Linked DNA regions of Homo sapiens: region 1 is linked to region 2. The links are contacts of gene promoters, found by promoter capture Hi-C in human tissues and cell types (Jung and others, 2019). All regions are on one chromosome and are shown on one strand. Each heading gives the region's core, a stretch centred on a gene start or on the middle of the fragment in contact. The rest is flanking DNA. Distances are from core to core; before and after follow the strand shown.

The links. Contacts are between HindIII fragments. The study calls those that stand out against the background at their distance.
Region 1: a fragment that was not itself captured here is called in contact with the fragment with the promoter of PTK2 in region 2 in 1 of the 25 tissues and cell types used here (dorsolateral prefrontal cortex).

The regions. Positions count from the first base shown.
Region 1 is chr8:140,469,718-140,473,742 of GRCh38, reverse strand. No RefSeq gene overlaps it. Among named protein-coding and RNA genes, the nearest start is that of TRAPPC9, 14 kb to the right of the region's middle. The HindIII fragment of the contact is 8,196 bases long and covers 1-4,025 here.
Region 2 is chr8:140,999,990-141,003,965 of GRCh38, reverse strand. PTK2 (protein tyrosine kinase 2) reads left to right here and starts at 2,684. Exons shown (of 36, transcript NM_001352702.2): 1 at 2,684-2,841. RefSeq lists silencers at 2,250-2,669, 2,690-3,019. The HindIII fragment of the contact is 8,254 bases long and covers 1,210-3,976 here.

The DNA.
Region 1 (4,025 bases), core at 1,450-3,949, 530 kb after region 2:
GCAGTGGGGACTGTGTCCACCTGACTCACTGTTGGGTACCCAGCTGGGACCCAGGGCCTGACACGACTTTCCCAGGGACTGAGTGGACAAGCTAACCCCTGCACTCATCCTTTTTAGGAAATGGGAACTCTCTTTATCAGAATGGGCCTGCCCTGGCTGTGCTGATCTCTTGGGGAAGCTGACTGAGACGGATGCATTTCCAGGGGAACCAAGAAGGAGACCTATGGGGTCAGGTATCTGATTTTTTGCACCTTGGATGAGTTTTGTCTGTTCTTGTACTTTGCGTAAACAGACCCACATGGCATGAACTCCACGGTTTGCAGCTTTCTTTGCTCAGCTTCCCTTGGGGAGAGTCATCCATGCCATTGCGCGTATCAGTGGTTTATGTTTATTGCTTAGTAGTATTGTTCTGAGGATAAATACAATGTATATAGGAATATACAACAGTTTATTTATCAGTCTTCTCATTGACAGACAACTTGAGTTATGTCCAATTTTTGGCAATTTTATTTTTTAATTAATTATTTATTTATTTTGTTTATTTATTTATTTATTTTTGAGAAGGAGTCTTGCTGTGTCACCCAGGCCGGAGTGCAATGGTGCGATCTCAGCTCACTGCAACCTCTGTTTCCTGGGTTCAAGCCATTCTCCTGCCTCAGCCTCCCAGAGTGCTGGGACTACAGGCAGTTGCCACCACACCTGGCTAATTTTTTTTTTTTTTTTTTGAGACAGAGTGTCACTCTGTCGCCCAGGCTGGAGTGCAGTGGTGTGATCTTGGCTCACTGCAAGCTCCACCTCCCGGGTTCATGCCATTCTCCTGCCTCAGCCTCCCAAGTAGCTGGGACTACAGGCACCTGCCACCACGCCTGGCTAGTTTTCTGTATTTTTTAGTAGAGATGGGGTTTCACCCTGTTAGCCAGGATGGTCTCGATCTCCTGACCTCGTGATCCGCCTGCCTCGGCCTCCCAAAGTGCTGGGATTACAGGCCTGAGCCACCGCGCCTGGCAGCAATTTTAAATAAAGCTGCTGTCATCATTCTTGGACAAGTATTTTGGTGAACATATGGTTGTTTTGATTTATTTTGGATAAATACCTAGACACTGAATGGCTGGGGCAAAAAGTAAGCATATGTTTAATTTTATAAAAAATCGCCAGACCTTGTTCCAAAGTACTTGTACATCTTACATTCCCACCAGCAATGCATGAGAATTCCAGTGTCTCCCTAACACTTGGTGTCATGAGTCTTTGAATTTTAGCTTTTTTTTTTTTTTTTTTTTTTTGATAGGGTCTCACTCTGTTACCCAGGCTGGAGGAGTACAGTCACACAATCATAGCTCACTTGCAGCCTCGACCTCCCAAGCCAGAGAGCCTCCTACCTCAGCCTCCTGAGTAGCTGGAACTATGGGCATGCTTTATCACACCTGGCTAATTTGTTGATTTTTTGTAGAGACGGGGTCTCACCACACTGCTCAGGCTGGTCTGAAACTCCTGGGCTCAAGTGATTCTCCTGTCTTGGCCTCCCAGAGTGCTGGGATTACAGGTGTAAGCCACCCTGCCAGGCCTAATTTCAGCCATTCTGATCCATGTGTGCACATCTCAGCGGTGAGCCCAGTAGCTCATACACAACTTTTTGGGTTACCTCTCCCTAGCTCCTTTCTGTCCATTCTCTGTCTCCTCAACTGGGTGACACTGGTGGCCTTTGTTTGAGTTCCCGCCCTCTGTACCATGGATCAGATATAGACTCCAGGCAGAAAGCCCAGTGAGCACAAAGCTCCACTTGTTTATTTCTCATTTGTTTGTTTCTCAGGGAACAGTCCTGAGCTGCCTGTTGTCGAGTCTGAAAACAGTTCCCTTTTCTGCCCCCTACCCCCGGTTTTCTATTTGTTTACGGTGAAAACATGTCTAGATGCTACAATCCCCTCTATATTTGTTTTTCACTTTTTAAAAATTGGCTTTGGCCAGGCGCGGTGGCTCACGCCTGTAATCCCAGCACTTTGGGAGGCCAAGGTGGGCGGATCACCTGAGGTCAGGAGTTTGAGACCAGCCTGGCCAACATGGGGAAACCCCGTCTCTACTAAAAATACAAAAATACAAAAACATTAGCCAGGCATGGTGGCATATGCCTGCAATCCCAGCTACTTGGGAGGCTGAGGCAGAAGAGTCGCTTGAACCCAGGAGGCAGAGGCTGCAGTGAGCCGAGATTGTGCCACTGCATTCCAGCCTGGGCGACAGAGCAAGATTCTTTTTTTTTTTTTTTTTTTTTGAGACGGAGTCTCGCTCTGTCGCCCAGGCTGGAGTGCAGTGGCGCGATCTCGGCTCACTGCAAGCTCCACCTCCCAGGTTCACGCCATTCTCCTGCCTCAGCCTCCCGAGTAGCTGGGACTACAGGTGCCCGCCACCACGCCCGGCTAATTTTTTGTATTTTTAGTAGAGACGGGGTTTCACCATGTTAGCCAGGATGGTCTCAATCTCCTGACCTCGTGATTCGCCTGCCTCGGCCTCCCAAAGTGTTGGGAATACAGGCGTGAGCCACCACACCCAGCGCAAGATTCTGTCTCAAAAAAAAAAAAAAGTTTGAGAGCAAGTGAAAAAAAAAGGTTTGAGAGCAAGTAAATGAGGATGGGACGGAAGAGTGACATCCAGAAAACAAGTAGTTTAGCAAGGCTGAACCATGGTATGAGGTTGGGAACTGCAGCCAGTGAGGATGGACTGGTAGGCAGGAAGCGCTTTGTTTTGAACAGGTTTATTGAGATAGAAGACACCTGTTAGAAAATTCACCCATTTAGAGTATGATTCATTGGCTTTTAGTATGTTCAGAGTGTTGCATCCCACCATCAGGAAGCCTTATAAGGTCCTATTGAGGTTTGCCTTCCTGGGGCCCCTGAACTGGCTTATGGGGATATGTGGGTGCATAAAGACTGATGGCAAAGCTGGAGCAGGGTGGGTCCAGGCAGAAAAGAGGAAAGGCAGTACTCTTTGTCCCGAGCTAGGCAGAGCTGGAGCAGGTTTCCTGTGGATTGTGAGGGATGGGGAGGAGGCCCCTCAAGTCCACTCCCCACCACAGGCCACAACTCCTATGTATTTTTTTTTGAGACAGAGTCTCGCTCTGTTGCTCAGGCTGGAGTGTAGTGGCATGATCTCAACCCACTGCAGCCTCTGCCTCCTGAGTTCAAGCAATTCCCCTGCCTCAGCCTCCTGAGTAGCTGGGGTTACAGTTGCCCGCCACCACGCTTGGCTAATTTTTGTGTTTAGTAGAGACAGGGTTTCACCATGTTGGCTAGGCTGGTCTTGAACTCCTGACCTAAGGTGATCCACCCGCCTCGGCCTCCCAAAGAGCTGGGATTACAGGCATGGGCCACCGCACCAGGTCAGGACTGTGTCTTAATAGTCAAAGCAAAGGGGACCATAAAGCACCAGGAATGTGGGGCTGGACCGACTGAGGCTCTCAGAAGCTTCTCATTTGCCAGGCACCCCAGAGCTTCCTTGGGGAGTGCTCTGAGAGGAACACTTCTAAAGAGGATCTCAGTTTTCTTAGTTGAGAGTGGTACTTTTTGAAGTGGGAGGGAGAAGGCCTGCAGCTTATTGACAGGAATGGGAAACAATGCCTCAGCCGGGCACGGTGGCTCATGCCTGTAATCCCAGCACTTTGGGAGGCCAAGGTGGGTGGATCATCTGAGGTCAGGAGTTCGAGATCAGCCTGGGTAACATAGTAAAACCCTGTCTCTACTAAAAATACAAAAAATTAGCCTGACGTGGTGGCAGGCGCCTATAATCCCAGCTACTTGGGAGGCCAAGGCAGGAGGATCACTTGAACCCGGGAGGCAGAGGTTGCAGTGAGCCAAGATAGCGCCATTGCACTCCAGCCTAGGCAACAAGAGCGAAACTCCATCTCAAAAAAACAACACAAAACAAAAAACCTCAGAGATCAGCGGAGGCAGAATTGAACCAGGCAACTTGTGTGGAACGAATTCTCGTAGCTGCTGGATGGTGATGTGGATGAAAGGAGGATGAGAGGAACCGGTCTG
Region 2 (3,976 bases), core at 1,435-3,934:
TACAGGTGTGAGCCACCGTGCCCGGCCTCTCTACAGCCTAATTCTAATGTACATCCTTTAGAGCCTCCATTTCACAGATGAGAAATTGAGGCTCAGAGACATTATACAACCTTCACAGGTTTATTGGTGAATGGTTAAACTTAAGCCTGGGTCTGTGCCAATGTTCATCTTACTCCTAAACCTGAGTTCTCAGGCACCACAAAGTGTGCCCAAGAGGTAAGACAAGCCACTGTTTCCTAGGTTTGTCCCTTTTCCCGTTTGTATCTCTGTTTGCCCTTCTCCTTTGCATCACTTCTTCCCGCCGTTTTCTGATTTCTTCTTTTACTAAGCATAATAATAACCAAAGCTGCCCTTCAAGAACGTCAATTTCAAATGTATCGTGGCAGAGTCCAGGAAACAATATTGTGTAACACACTACCCTAAAACCTAAAGGCTTAAAACCACATGTATTTTATTGGCTCACAATTCTGTGGTTTGGCAATTTGGGTTGGATTCAGCTGGGCAGTTCTTCCATCAGTCTCTCCAGGTCTTATGTATGCTTCACAGGGGCTGGGTGGTCTAGTACAGCTCACTCACATGTCTGGAGGTGGCACCTTGTTGGCCAGGGTGCCTCAGTTCTCTTCCACACGGCCTCCTCGTGAGGCTAGCTTGGGCTTAAGGGGGGAAAATGAAAGCAGCATGGCCTCTTGAGGCCTAGGCTTGGAATTTGTACAATGTCACTTGTGACACATCCCATTGGTCAAAGCAAGTTACAAGATCCCATCCACATTCAAGGGGTGAATAAATTCCACCTCTTCTTGGGAAAAGTGTCAAAGAATTGATGGCCATTTTTAGTCTACTATGCTAAGTGCAGCCCCTTCCCCCAAAGTTATCCTTAATGCAGTCCCTTTGTGCCTCCACTCTCCTCTTTTAATTCCCATGCTTTTCTTATCCTTTTAATAATAAGCTCTCACTTCACATCACCCAAAGCTTCGTTCATTCACTTGACAAATACTTACTGTGTGCCAGGACCTATTAGTGAACAAAACAAAGCCCGTGCTCTAATGAATCTAAGATTCTAGTGGAGAGAGCGGACAATCAAGAAATAAACAAGAACACAGTGTTGGGCTATGGTGAACAATAGGTGCTTTGGAGAACAACAGAGCAGACTAAGTGCGGACTGTGTGTGAGGATAGCAGGGCAGTGGGTGGTTCCTATTATATGAAGTGGTCGGCTGTATCAATGAGGTGATATATAAGCAGGGTATTGAACGAAGTGAGGAGCAAGAAGTTCCAGGCAGAGCAAATAGCACGCGCAAAGGCCTGAGGCTGGCATGGAGAGGCAATTCCTTACAATTTCATATGTAGTAAAAAGTAACAAAACCCAGAAAAACACCAACCTTAATACATCTCATTAAAGAACAATACAACCCAAACATTTAAATATGGTAAAATCTTGATAAGCAAAAGCTTTTTATTTTACTTCATTTTTACTTTTATAAAAGCTCCTAATGCAATGACGTGTGTCACCTCTCTGGGCTTCAGGGTGTTCACCTTTCAAAAGGCCTCGGTGCCTGTCTGTCCTGCTTCCTGGCTTGTGGTTAGCATCAAAATGACACCATAAAAATGAAAGTTGCAGCCTTGAGGGTTCTTCTGGTTTCATTTCCGACCACAAGGTTGCCAGAGTGACTTTTTTTTTTTTTTAAATAACACAAATCAGTTATCACTTCCTGCTTAAAGCCCTCCAAAGGTTCCCTGTTGCCTAAAGAATAAACTCCAGGCACCTAAGCAAGCCCCACGCAGCCGTCTGCATTTTTCAATCCCTCCAACCTCGCCTTTTGCTATTTCCCCCACCCCACCTACGGCACGTTCCGGTCATAACCAACTAGCTCCTCGCTGAAACTGGCTCACACCGCGGAAGCCCGGGTCGGTGTCGGGGCGAGCCTTCCCTCCTTTTCCTGGAGCCCGTCTCAGGTCTGTAGCCCTCGGGAGGGATTGCAGGGCTCGTTCCCTGCTGGCGTTCATTTAGGTAACCTGTCTACCTCCAGTGGACTTCTAAGTCCCTTTCATGATTTTTCATCTTCCAAAATCAAATAATGGCCCAGCCCAACTTAGCTATAATGCCATGAAAAGAATCTCTGAGCCTCAGTTTCCTTGTCTGCAAAAAGGGCCCAGGAACCGCTCGTTAGGGTCGGTGTGGTGCCTGGAGAGTGCACTGCAAGGCCCGGGGCCCGCAGCGGGTGCCCGACAGCGGGCGTCCAACTCTGGGGGCGGGGCCGCAGGGCCGCTCAGGAGGGAGGTTCTCCAGAGGGGACCCCTTCGGGATTTGGGGGCAGGGAAGGAGATGGGGAGGACTTTCCCGAAGTCCGTCTAATCCCGCTGGCGGAGAGCGAGGCAGGTGGGACCCCAGGATGTCCGCTCGGCGGGGCGACCCCGGCCACCCCCGAGACCAGGGCTTTCCTCGTCCGGCCGCCACGCCCGCGCGCAGCCTCGGGCCACCCCGAAACCCCGGCGCGGTCACTACAGGACAAATTACGCGAGCAGAGCCTAGCGGCGCGCTGGGCATGCGCGGGGGCGGCGCGCATGCCCAGTCCCCCCGAGAGGCGGGAACTCCGGACTGAGACCGGGTCGGGCGTGCGCTGCCGAGAGAGGACGCGCGCCTCAGCCGGCTGCCGCGCACGCGCGCGGGCCCGCGCCGACGCAGCACGGCCTCGAGGGCGCGAGCCCGCGCCGCCGCCGCCGCCGCCGGTCCCGGACCACTGTGAGCCCGCGGCGTGAGGCGTGGGAGGAAGCGCGGCTGCTGTCGCCCAGCGCCGCCCCGTCGTCGTCTGCCTTCGCTTCACGGCGCCGAGCCGCGGTCCGAGTGAGTGCGGGGCGCCGGGCGCGGGGCGCGGGTCGGGGGCTGGGCGGGCTCCTTCTGTGCAGCGGTCGTGGGCTGGGCCGCGGCCCTGAGGGCGGAGGGGCAGAGCGGGGCCGCCCAACCAGTCCCGGGGCGGATGCGGCGGAGACCGGCCCCTCCCGCGCCCCCGGCCCGGGTTCTGGGAGGAGGGGAGGCCGGTGGCCGTGAGGAGGTTGGGGGCCCTCGCGGAGGCCGAGAGGCTTAAGGAGGTCAGGGGGCGCGCTGGGAGGCGGGGGTTCGGGGCGCTGGGTGGTCGGGAGGCTTGGGGAAGACTGGGAGGCTGAGGGACGTGGGGAGGCCGGGAGCTCGAGGAGGTCGGGGGTTTTGGGGGCGCGCGGGGAGGCCAAGGGGTTCGGGGAAGACAGAAAGGCTGGGGGACGTGGGGAGTCCGGGAGACGTGAGGAGGAAGGGGGGGGCGGCTTTCGAAAAGGCCGGGCGCGCGGAGAGGCCGAGGGGCCTGAGGAAGACGAGGAGGCCGGGGCTCTGGGGGCGCGCAGGGCGGACAGAGGCGCGGGGAGGACGGGCCGGCCTCCGCCGGAGCGGACCCAATGCCTGAAAAACAAAAGGGGAGAGGCAGGAGGAGGAAGAGGGAAATCGCAGGGACGTCGGCAGGGTTCGCCCGGACGCGAGAGGGAGGCTCGCGACGGCCCGACCTCCGTCCCCCGGGCGCGGCCTCGCGGGCAGCCAAGGGTGGGCTCCGAGCGGCCTGCCGGTGCCCGAGCCCCAAGCCCGCCGTGTCCCCGAACGCAAACCCTCAAGTTTGGTAGAGCCCCGTGGGCTTCTTGGCGGGAGCCCTGGAGCCCTCACTGAAGTCCTCACTGGAGTCATTGTGCTTCCCAAGTTTTCTCCTCTTCCCCGCCCCCAGCCCCCGACTCTGCCGCGGTGGCTTAGGCGCAACTGTTTGCCGAATTTCTCTCTGGGTTCCTTGTGTAGCGGCATCCTGTTCTTTCTTAGAAGAAGGGGTGTGTGTGTGTGTGTGTGTGTGTGTGTGTGTGTGTGTGAATTGGTTTCATTTAATTGCAGAATTTTGTAGCTAAATTCAGTGAGGGTAAAGTTTCTTTTTTTTTTTTTTTCCGAGTCATTTCAACAGTGTCTCATT